Linked DNA regions of Homo sapiens: regions 2 and 3 are each linked to region 1. Evidence: promoter capture Hi-C in 16 types of primary human blood cells and fetal thymus (Javierre and others, 2016). All regions are on one chromosome and are shown on one strand. Each heading gives the region's core, a stretch centred on a gene start or on the middle of the fragment in contact. The rest is flanking DNA. Distances are from core to core; before and after follow the strand shown.

Region 1 (4,343 bases), core at 182-2,681:
AGGATCATTAATATCACTGTCTTCCACCTCCACATTTTGCCCCACTGGACAGTCTTCAAGGGCACTAACATGCATGAAGCTGTCATCTATGACAGCAATGCATTCTTCTGGAATACCTTCTGAAGGACCTGCCTGAGATTCTTTTACAGTTAACTTTTTTATAAGTAGGAGTATACTCTAAAATAATGATTAAAAGTATAGTCTAGTAAATAAATGAACCAGTAACATAGTCATCTATTTTTACTATCAAGTACTATGTAATGTACATAATTGTATGTGCTATACTTTTACAACTGGCAGCTCAGTAGGTTTGTTTACACCAGCATTGCCACAAACACATGAGTAATGTGTTATGCTACAATGTCACTAGATGGTAGGAATTTTTCAGCACACACACACAAGTATATATATTATATATTATATTATATATTATATATATATGTATATATATATATATATATATAGAGAGAGAGAGAGAGAGAGAGAGAGAGAGAGATGGAGTCTTGCTCTGTCGCCCAGGCTGGGGTGCAATGACACAATCTCGGCTCACTGCAACCTGACTCCCAGGTTCAAGTGATTCTCCTGCCTCAGCCTCCTGAGTAGCTGGGACTACAGGTGCCCACCACCATGCCCAGCTAATTTTTGTATTTTTAGTAGAGACGGGGTTTCACCATGTTGGCCAGATTGGTCCCAAACTCCTGACCTCAAGTGATCCACCCCACTCAGCCTCTCAAAGTGCTGGGATTACAGGCGTGAGCCACCGTGCCTGGCCAACACCATTATAATCTTATGGGACCACTGTCATACATGTGGTTCATCATTGGCCAAAGCATCTGTATTTATATATGTATGTTTCAAATTATATATATATATATATATATATATATATATATATATATGATAGCTATACATGAACATACACACACACATATATAGACATATATAGCACATAAAATTGGCACATATTAAGCATTTTGTAAATATCAACCATTACAATTGTTACTACTTTTCTCAGCAAGGCTATGAATGCTGTTCCAGCCTGTCAAAATCACACCTGTTTAATGTGTTTTACCCAGCACGAAGTCATGTCTAGTTGAGTGGCTTAAAAATTGTGATCAAATAGCTGGTTAGTTAAAAAGTTATTTCACTGTGTAAAATACATCCCTTAAAATGCACTGTTATTTATCTCTTAGTTGTAGAAATTGGTTTCATTTTCCACTATGTTTAATTGTGACTGGATCATTATAGACCCTTTTTTTGTAGTTGTTGAGGTTTAAAGATTTAAGTTTGTTATGGATGCAAGCTTTTCAGTTGACCAATGATTATTAGCCAATTTCTGATAAAAGAAAAGGAAACCGATTGCCCCAGGGCTGCTGTTTTCATTTCCTCATTGGAAGAAGAAGCATAGTATAGAAGAAAGGCAAACACAACACATTCAACCTCTGCCACCATGGGGAACTGGGCTGTGAATGAGGGGCTCTCCATTTTTGTCATTGTAAGTACCAACAAGAGATAAGTTATAAATTCTCTGACTTCTCGGGGTTATCTTGGAACTAAAATAGACCAAAGCTTTTTTGTTCATTTGAGGAATTGTGTTGAAACTGATTTACCATGTGAACCTATATCTATCTGTAAACAGACTGAGTCCATTCTTCCAAATTCCTTAATGGAAAGAACATATCTGGGGGCTCACTTCTAGCTTACTTCTGAATTCCTAGGAGGAATAAATTAGCCAGCATTTCGCAGAAGGAGTAGAAAATATTTCATGCTAATGATCTCTGATTCTGAGTTGTTTAGTAATGTTTACTCAGACGCACATGTCTATGTGTTTATACTACTTTAAAAATGACAAATTGAAATTTTATACCATTTTCTAAATAAAAAATATAAGATTGACTCATGTATGGGAAGTAGGCCTTTATTTCAGTAATTACACTAAATATAATAAAACTTCTCAAATTTATTTTCAAAAACAAGTACCTTCTTTTTTCAGAGATCTAAACTTGAGTTATTTATAAGATTTATAAAAATTCAAAAGAACAGAATTGAAATAAGTCATCTAGATTCATAAATATGTAGTATGTATATTTATATATAATTGTATATATATATAAATCAATATAGTCTGGAGAAACTATGTAAGTAAAGATATAGCTAATTTACAAGTGGACAGAATGATTTCTGTACTTTTTAAAACAAAGAAAATCAACTGTTCTCTTAAAATGGTGTTATCAGCAAAGCAATAATGGACAAATTGGGTAGATAGAAATACGATTTTTAAATAGCCTTTCTAAATAACCAATAGAAGCATTACACAGATGTTAAAAAGTACAATTATGAATGGAATATGAATGGAGCTTTTGTAAAAATTTATCATGAAAAATAATGAGTCTTTGAGTTTTAAATATAGAAAGCAATTAGTGGCACAAATAAAAACAACAAATATTTTGTTATAAAAAATGTTTACGCCAAACCAACATTCTACTGCAACAGAGAATTCTTCCGAGTATTCGAAGCTGTAAACTTAACTTCTTATCACCATTTTTAAGGGCAAATAATTTCTATAGAAAGTAAGTTCAAATTAAACTTTTAGCTCTCGCCACAATTTTTCCCAGGAAATGACCTCCTTCTAAATTATATACTCATGCACTTGAAAGTGAAAACACAGCTTGGAAAGTCAGAGTAAAGAAAGAATGACAAGATCAGGAAATTGGGAAGTTGCTTTAGCACTTTTTTCTTTGTAAAGAGAGAATATTATCAAGTGTCTAGAGCATATAATAGCTTCAAAGCATAGTTGAGAAAAGATCACTATGGAGCTGAAGGTAGAGAACTGGGTAGTGTGACCACTTGATCCAGTCAGTGCTTAGGATAAAATGAACTGTCATGATCTAGAAAGCTGTTTTTGTTGTAAATCCCAAGCCCCTCACTATGCTCAATATTCTCTCCTTGAAGCATTAAGTAAAACTAATCAAGGAAAATGGAAGGCTTGGCATTTTAGCTGATGAGAATTCACTAGCTGGATTACTGTGTGGTAGAGGGAGGTGATTAGCACCTGTGAGAACAGAACGCAGTGTCATACTGGTGGAGGGAAAGCAATAGTAATATGTTCCCTTCCTTTCTCATTTTAAGTGGAGTGGCCTGCTATCAGCTACCTATCCAAGGTTAAGCAAAAGAGAGGGGAAAAAAAGGGAGTGGGGTAATGTAAGACTGATAATTTGGTATACTGGCCAAATCATAAAACAATCATGGGGAACAACACAGGGTGGAGAGGTTTTAATTATAGACAAGTGTAGTGACACTGTTGAGGAAAGAGCTGGCTCTAAGCTGGTTATATCCAGCTTTGTCACTACCTTTGTCAAAGTTGGACTTGGGGAAGTCCTGACCCTTATCTGACTCCAGTCTTGTGTGGAATCTACTGTGGAAATGCGGAAACTTCATGCAATTATTTCTGTTTGTGCAGCTGGTTTGGCTGGGGTTGAACGTCTTCCTCTTTGTCTGGTATTACCGGGTTTATGATATTCCACCTAAGTTCTTTTACACAAGAAAACTTCTTGGGGTAAGTATAAATTCCATCCCATGCAATATTGGCTGGTTCACATTTCTCATCAGACATTCTTGTTCATCTTCCTGTTAGCATTTTAAATACATATTCTGACCAACCCAAACAGTACCATTAGCCTCACTCCCTCCATTGCAACTTCCTGGGCAACAGTCACTTAAAGCCTTCCAGTCTGGGACCAACAAAAGTGGGGCAGAGGGCCCCAGTGGCATCCTTCCCCAACCAAGAACCATGTGCCATTGTTTAGCTTAAAGGAGAAATCTAATACTCACTCTGAAATGGAAGGGCAGGTTGGAGCAATCCATCCAGGAGTGACACATGTGGGACAAGTGGGACTTTCCATATTTTCTAAGTCACCTAATTCCTAGTACTTTTTTGCATGAAGAGCTCTGCTCCTAATCACATGTTATGAAATGATCTTCAGAAAATAAATCTCTCTCTACATATAAAGACTCGAGGAACTTGCTCAAGGGCCACATCTGTTGACTAGGACAGTAGAGTGAAGGCCCTTCAGTTTCCTTGGGTCCTTTAGTATTCTGAGTTTCCTTGAACTGTCAGGCCTCTTGCCTCCAGAAGACATCTGTTACATCATGCTGAAACTATGAATTAATTGCTTAATATTAATTATTATAAGTATTATAAATCATAAATAAATAATTTTAGCATATAATTATGCTAGATCATTATAATTGTTGTTAGCTTATTCACATTGATGCTTTCTCCCGCCAAAATATGCAACTTCTTTAGACATTACAAATATAATAATTATAATGCCAAAGCATTA
Region 2 (4,330 bases), core at 163-2,662, 33 kb after region 1:
ATTGAACTTAGGAATTGTGACAAATATGTATCTGATATGGTCATTTGTTTTAAATAACACCCACCCCTTATTTTCCGTAAATACACACACAAAATGGATCGCATCTGTGTGACTAATGGTTTATTTGTATTATATCATCATCATCATCCTAAAATTAACAACCCAGAAACAAAAATCTCTATACAGAGATCAAATTCACACTCAATAGTATGTTCTGAATATATGTTCAAGAGAGAGTCTCTAAATCACTGTTAGTGTGGCCAAGAGCAGGGTTTTCTTTTTGTTCTTAGAACTGCTCCCATTTCTGGGAACTAAAACCAGTTTTATTTGCCCCACCCCTTGGAGCCACAAATGTTTAGAACTCTTCAACTTCGGTAATGAGGAAGAAGGAGAAAGAGCTGGGGGAAGGGCAGAAGACTGGTTTAGGAGGAAAAGGAAATAAGGAGAAAAGAGAATGGGAGAGTGAGAGAAAATAAAAAAGGCAAAAGGGAGAGAGAGGGGAAGGGGGTCTCATATTGGTCATTCCCTGCCCCAGATTTCTTAAAGTTTGATATGTATAGAATATAATTGAAGGAGGTATACACATATTGATGTTGTTTTGATTATCTATGGTATTGAATCTTTTAAAATCTGGTCACAAATTTTGATGCTGAGGGGGATTATTCAAGGGACTAGGATGAACTAAATAAGAACTCAGTTGTTCTTTGTCATACTACTATTCCTTTCGTCTCCCAGAATCCTCAGGGCACTGAGGGTAGGTCTGACAAATAAGGCCTGCTGTGCGAATATAGCCTTTCTGAAATGTACCAGGATGGTTTCTGCTTAGAGACACTTAGGTCCAGCCTGTTCACACTGCACCTCAGGTATCAATTCATCTATTCAACAGATATTTATTGTGTTATTACTATGAGTCAGGCTCTGTTTATTGTTTCAATTCTTTACACCAAAGTATGAACTGGAGAGGGTACCTCAGTTATAAGGAGTCTGAGAATATTGGCCCTTTCTAACCTATGTGCATAATTAAAACCAGCTTCATTTGTTGCTCCGAGAGTGTTTCTCCAAGGTTTTCTATCTTCAAAACCAACTAAGTTATGAAAGTAGAGAGATCTGCCCTGTGTTATCCAGTTATGAGATAAAAAATGAATATAAGAGTGCTTGTCATTATAAAAGTTTCCTTTTTTATTCTCTCAAGCCACCAGCTGCCAGCCACCAGCAGCCAGCTGCCAGCCTAGCTTTTTTTTTTTTTTTTTTTTTTTAGCACTTAGTATTTAGCATTTATTAACAGGTACTCTAAGAATGATGAAGCATTGTTTTTAATCTTAAGACTATGAAGGTTTTTCTTAGTTCTTCTGCTTTTGCAATTGTGTTTGTGAAATTTGAATACTTGCAGGCTTTGTATGTGAATAATTCTAGCGGGGGACCTGGGAGATAATTCCTACGGGGAATTCTTAAAACTGTGCTCAACTATTAAAATGAATGAGCTTTCTTTGTGTCTGTGTTACTGATCTTTGTATTAAAGGGTAAATTCAGCTAGTAACAATTTTCTCTACCCCGGTGGGGTTGAGACACTCTGTGTTTCTGTATATGATATGCCAAACACTTCATGGTTTATGGATTGGGAAGTGAAAGCTGAAGACTAAGTTCTGTGCTGAATACTGTTGATCCTCACAACACTAATATAAGGGACAGGGAGGGCAACTTAATGTCATAGACAGAATTTCAGAAACGAAGAAGCCCCAGTGTGACATCTTTGTTCCACGTCTACTGAACTTTCATGTTCTAACTTCACAATTGAGTATCATCAATTGTGGGCAATATGGGCAATTGTGGGCAATTGTGAGCAATTGTGGGCATATATGCTCATGCTTCTGTGATAGCCCTTGTTCTAAATGAGTCAACCGGTTACGATCTCCACTATTTAGGAAATGCATAGGGGTGTGGGCATGACATGTTCCTGTGGGAGTCAACAGGTGCTGCCATGGAGGGAAAGGACATTACCTAAAATAAATGGCAGTAATAGAAATAGCCAACATTTGGTAAACACCTCCTACTATGCCGAACATTTTACATACACTTTATTTAATCCCTCAGCAACACTACAAGGTAGCCGTTTTATCCTAATTTTGTTGATAAGAAAACAGTCTGAACGAAGATGAATGAGAAGGAAAAGTACCCATAACTATTGGGTGACTATGTCAACATTCAATCCACATCTTTCTGGGGACAAACTCCATGTCCTTTATACTACACTAGCAGATTACACTAGGTATAAAAAATTAAGGATATTTTCTTTCTCTCTCTCTCTCTCTCCTTTTTGTTTGAGACGGAGTTTTGCTCTTGTTGCCCAGGCTGGAGTGCAATGGCACGACCTCAGCTCACCGCAACCTCTGCCACCCGGGTTCAAGCGATTATCCTGCCTCAGCCTCCTGAGTAGTTGGGATTACAGGCATGCGCTACCGCGCCTGGCTAATTTTGTATTTTTAGTAGAGACGGGGTTTCTCCATGTTGGTCAGGCTGGTCTCAAACTCCCAACCTCAGGTGATCCACCGGCCTCAGCCTCCCAAAGTGCTGCGATTACAGGCATGAGTCACCGCACCCGGCCAAAAACTAAGGATATTTTCAAAGCAATTATGCTAGGTACAAATTATGTACCAAGAATAGCTGGGTAACAGTGGTAACATAAATCTCTAGTTTATACCATTTAAGTAGCTTGGTATCTTAGTTTAGAAACACTGGTTAATCTGATTCATGCTCATTTTTACTTTTAAATTATGATAAAATAGAACCTATCAAAAAATGGAATTATTTTGCTTGGAGAAAAGAAGGCTGTAGGGTGACTCAATAATATTTATTAAGTCTACTTTTTCATTTATATTTATTTTATTTATAAACAATTTCTGTCTTTCAGAGAATGGCCAGCTGTTGTCTATAGTTTTGTGTGTGTGTGTGTGTGTGTGTGTGTGTGTGTGTGTGTCTGTGTGTAATAAGATTGCATGAGGAAGGAGCTAAATTTCTCAACCATAAATTCAGTTGGGCAAAAAACAAAGTGTTGACAGAGGCTAGGAAATCTGACCACTAGAGATTTTTAAAACCTGGAAAAATGATCAACCAAGTGGCCTGAGATTCATTTAAACTTGTAGCCTTTATTATCTTGTTGTAGTGGTTGGGGAATGAGGTAGTCTAAGTAATTGGATATTCCAGTTAATACTTATTGCTAATAGATTCATAATTTTCAAGGAAGTGGGATGCTATAAATTATAAGAAGAAACTAAATCCTGAAATACACTTCTTCTTGGATTTAAAAAATACTAGGAAATGTTGTACATGAGCAGAGGCCACTGTGAGCTTATTTTCTAGATTTTACTCTGAAGAACTAATGACATGAAGACTGTGCTTATCTGACTTTTGAAAATAGCCCGAAGTATTTTCTTCCTACTTCATAGAGGACTGCTCCAAAGACAGCAAACTTGATTTATATAAGAAATAAAGTCCAAAAGATCTTCATAAATCTTAAAATTACATTCGATTATAAAGAAATCACCAAGTTTAGCATTATGTTAGATCCCTTGATTGCTAAATATCACTTCCTCTTTTCAGTAATAATAAAATCACTAACCTACTTATGCTCATAGAAAACACTAAACATCACTTTTTCTGATCAGATGAGGGCAAGTCAGGGCATAAGGAATGAAAACGACTTCGTTATTTCCAAGAGATTCTAGGGCAATTCTTAGAAATCTTTATGTCGATTGATAAGAAAAAAAAATTATGCTACCTAAACATCTCTTGGGAATAGCAAATGTGCTTGCATTGGCTGAAAACCATCAGGGAACACTATTAACATGGGAGTTATTCCAGACCAAGCTATTGGAGATCAGCACAGCTATCTGATTATCCTGTTTTCCAGGTGGGGGCTCTGCATAACTCGCGGCTAAAATATCACACTCACATCTATGTTATCAACTTCCTGCTGCATTCCTTACCCAGTGCTTATTCCGCTGGGACAAACATGCCTATGGCTTTACTGAGATCGAAGGCAACAGCAAGCTTGACCATGCCCAACTCACAAAGAAAGTCAGATGCAAAACAGCCTTTAAGAACATGAGTTTTTGCCCTTCCTTTATAGAAAATAATCACAAAACTTTCCTTTCCTTTTGGTAAATATAAAAATGCATTTTGAGAAATTCATTTCCTCTTTGAGATATTGTTTATCAAATGGTGAGGGGATGGGAATCGGGGGAAAATGTAAAACAAATGAATGGTAACCATATTAATAGAAAAAACAAGATAAGGAATATAATGAATAGTGTGTTTTTTATTGTTTTTTTTT
Region 3 (3,974 bases), core at 1,251-3,750, 50 kb after region 1:
ACAAGATGAAGGGCAAGGGGCATTTTAGGCTTTTGTTATATCATGATGTTTTGGCTGAAAAACAATATCATGTATTGTGTAATTTAAATTAAGTACTAAAAATTAATATGTAATTGTTTAACTATTTCAAATCATATAATACATAAAATAAAAAGTGATATTTCATCTTTACTTTTCCATAATTTATTTATCCCTTCCCCTTTTGGTGGACACTTTAAAGTTGTTTTCATTTTTTAAATTTGTTATTACAAAGAAAATTCTTCTTTGCTTTTTTTCTTTTTCTCACTCATGTTATTATTTCTGTAGTATAGATCTCTAATACTCTGGTCATGGAACATAAGCACTTAAAAATTTGACAGATGCTGCCAAATTGCCCTCTAGAAAGACTACGCTAATGATTCATAGAACATTAGTTCTGTCCATGTAAACTCCCTAGTTTACATTACCAAGCTTGCTACAATAGCAGTTGCACCCAGACGTTCTGATGGGGCCTCAAGTCCAGATGATAGCTGGCTTCATTTCCTTCCCTTTGTCGGTTGACCATTGGTGGAAAAAGTGCAATGTCTGACCAGATGGCCCAATCAATAGAGGGAGCTGGGGTAGAGTGAGAGGGGCTACTAGAAGACTAAATCTGCAGGAGCTATGAAACGCCGACAAATTAATGACCCATGGGCTACATGTGACCCACAGACATGTTTCTTTTGGCCTGTATAATGTTGGGCTACAGAGTGTGTAAAAAAATATGACTCAGTGGTAAGCATTAAAGGAACAGTGCTTAATCCCCAACTTGTGATGTTTTCTTTCAGGTCGTTCTCTATGTACAGATTTATCAATTCATATAAAACCCCTGATATTTCTTTATTTCCTCACTCCTTCCATGAGAGGTAAAATGGCTCCTTTTTCCCTTTTTCTTTGTAGCTGGTTCACCAGCAGAGCACGTTTCTGCCTTCAACTGGGCAATAATTCAAATTCTGGAGTTTAACATTAGAAAGACTAGCTGCCCTGAGATAAGTTCCATTCTGGAACAGAAAGGTAATATTTTTATTTGAAGCTATCTTTATCTTTGTCTCCCAATTGATTCAGAATTAAACTAGGAAAGAGATGTACTATTGATTGGACCTCCTTAAACCCAAACACCATGTTCTAAAATATGGAAATTTTGAAATTGAGAGATTGTGCATCATAATTGATATTTCTGGATTTTTTGAAAAAACTGGAAGATTAACCCTGAGCCCTTGTTTCTAAATTGTGTGCTATCCAACTTATCACAGTCCTTACTATTCCCTATTATCTGATACCTAGAATGAGAGACCACTGACATTGAGCCTCATGTGATAATAAAATTGTAGTAGACAGAGTAATACACCCCCCACCATCACAAAGATGTCCACATTCTAATCCTCAGAACCTGTCAATATGTTCATGGCAAAAGGGATTTTGCAGGTGTGATTAAGTATAGGGACAATATCTGGGGTGGGCCCAATATAATCACGAGGTTCCTAATAAGGGAAATATGAAAACAAGAGGCTCAGAGTCAGAAATGATGGAAGCAGAGGTCAGAAAGGAACGGGATTTGAAGATACTACACTGCTACCTTTGAGGGTGCTAGAAGGAATCACTAGCCAAGGAATTTAAGTAGCCTCTAGAAAGTAGAAAAGGCAAGAAAAAGGATTCTCTCCTAGAAGCTCCAGAAAGGACACATCTCTGCTTATACCTTGATTTTAGATCAGTAAGACCATTTTGAACTTCTGGCTTCCAGAACTGTAAGTGAATAAATTTGTGTTGTTTTAGACCACCAAGTTTAAGTGGCAATCGGAAACCAATACAAAAGTTAAGGAGAAAGTCAAACACTTCTTATACTGGTACACCTATCACGAGAGGGAAAACAAATTAGATCAAGATGGCTATACATTTCAGTAATAATGTGAGAGAGTATTTCTTTGTTTTGTTTTGTTTTTAAGAGACAGTGTGTCACTCTGTCACCCAGGTTGCAGTGCAGTAGTGTCATTCACTCTAACTTCAAACTCCTGACTCAAGAAATCCTACTGCTTCAGCCTACCTAGTAGTTAGGACTACAGGTGCACACCACCACAGCCAGCTAACTTTTAAAATTTTTGTAGAAACCGTGTCTCACTATGTTGCCTAGACTGGTCTTGAGCTCCTGGCCCCAAGTGATCCTCAAGTCTCAGCCTCCCAAAGGGCTGGGATTACAGGCATGAGCTACCACTCCCAGCCTACATTGCTGATAGTTTAGCCAGCATCCAACACTCCCCTTACCTTTCATTAAAAGTACTCTGATTTTTGTTTAAGTATTTAATGCTCTCCCATATCTTTGATATACTTTAGGGAAAACTAATGCTTCTCTGGTCTAAATGTGATTCTATCCTTGCTACAATGAATCATTCAGGAGCCCAAATTTAAGAAAGTCAATGAATAGAATTTCCAGATTAAGAGATTGGCTCAATATTGGGTATGTGGCTTAATTTTGTTTTTTTTTCTTCCTGTATTCTTTCTAGCTAGTGACCTAATTTTTACCAGTGCAAGTCTGTGAAATTGTTTCCTGTTTCTGTATTACAAACAACCTCAAAACGTAATGGATTGGCAGAAGTCAATTGGAAGATTCTTTTGCTCCACATGGTGTAACAGAGTTACTAATGTGCCTGCATTTAGCTAGGAGTTTGGCAGGAGGTAGAAATTCCAAAGGTGGCTTTTTATTCTTTGGAGTCCATCTTCAGATGACTTCTCTTCATTCAGTAGTCTAACCTGAGCTTCTTTACGGTATGGTTAACAGATTCCAAGGAGGAGCATTCCAAGAGACAAGGATGCAAGAACACAAAGAGAAAAATACAATGTGTAAATAAACTTTTGCTTTTTCATCATATGTCTCATTGGCCAAAGCAAGTCATATGTCCAAGTTCAGAGTCAATGAAGAAAGTGACTACACAAGGGCATGAATACCAGGAGAAGAGATTTATTGCAGGCCACTATCCACCACAGGAATGCTTAGCAGAGGTTTAAGGGAAAGAAATTTTCTTATTTTTAACTATTCAAATATATTTTCTTTCTTCCTCTATTCAATATGGTATACGAATGGGAAGCCTGGATCTGCTTTAGCCATTTTTGCACAATGATGAAAATCAGGCTAAGGATAAAGTCAACTAACAGAGTAGGCTAGGCTAAGGATAAAGTCAACAAACAGTGGGACACAAATGAAGCAATCACAGAGAAACAGACCTTAGGCCACAGGATTAAGTCAACCTGAAATATGTTTTATTTCTGGACTTCCAAATAAGTTAATTAAAAGCATTCTAACTATACAGCAAGTGAATTCCATTACTGCATATTTAACATGCAAAAGATGTCTGTTGACAGAGTATAACTTAAAGTGCCATTATGAAACAAATCATAAGAACTATGATAGAAACATGGAAGTGTTTAATAATAAAAATAATAAACTAAAAAAAAAGAACTGAAATGTCAACAGTGTTTGCTTTGGAAAGCAAATTGGTGATGCTATTAGGAAGTACAGTTATTTATAAAGTAAAAAAAAAAAAATTGCTTGTGCAGGAAGCCCTTTTAGATACAGCATATATAGAGTTTGAGGTGGAGTCAGAAGGCCATTTAGAAGCCTCCATCTGGCCAGGCCTGATGACTCACACCTGTAATCCCAGCACTTTGGGGGACTGAGTGGGGCAGATCACTTGAGGTCAGGAGTTAGAGACCAGCCTGGCCAACGTGGTGAAACACTGTCTCTACTAAAAATACAAAAAATAGCCCAGCGTGGTGGTGCGTGCCTGTAATCCCCACTACTCAGGAGGCTGAGGCAGGAGAATTATTGCTTGAACCTAGGAGGCAGAGGTTGCAGTGAGCTGAGATCGTGCCACTGTACTCCAGCCTGGGCAACAGAGCGAGACTCCATCTCAAATAATAATAATAATAATAATAATAATAGTAATAATGGTGGCCAGGTGTGG

The links. Contacts are between HindIII fragments. The CHiCAGO score rates a contact against its expected background, and 5 or more counts as called.
Region 2: a fragment that was not itself captured here is called in contact with the fragment with the promoter of CYBB in region 1 in 2 of 17 cell types (naive B cells and total B cells); the score reaches 10.4 in naive B cells.
Region 3: a contact is called between a fragment that was not itself captured here and the fragment with the promoter of CYBB in region 1, in 2 of 17 cell types (total B cells and naive B cells). The highest score is 7.7, in total B cells.

What each region holds. Positions count from the first base shown.
Region 1 is chrX:37,778,628-37,782,970 of GRCh38, forward strand. It overlaps CYBB (cytochrome b-245 beta chain), which reads left to right and starts at 1,432. Exons shown (of 13, transcript NM_000397.4): 1 at 1,432-1,495; 2 at 3,461-3,556. The coding sequence starts at 1,451. RefSeq lists an enhancer at 1,474-1,523. The HindIII fragment of the contact is 266 bases long and covers 1,302-1,567 here.
Region 2 is chrX:37,811,976-37,816,305 of GRCh38, forward strand. It overlaps CYBB (cytochrome b-245 beta chain), which reads left to right. Exons shown (of 13, transcript NM_000397.4): 13 at 1-1,486. Among named protein-coding and RNA genes, the nearest start is that of DYNLT3, 33 kb to the right of the region's middle. RefSeq lists an enhancer at 1,765-1,964. The HindIII fragment of the contact is 5,265 bases long and covers 1-4,045 here.
Region 3 is chrX:37,827,364-37,831,337 of GRCh38, forward strand. No RefSeq gene overlaps it. Among named protein-coding and RNA genes, the nearest start is that of DYNLT3, 18 kb to the right of the region's middle. The HindIII fragment of the contact is 4,104 bases long and covers 449-3,974 here.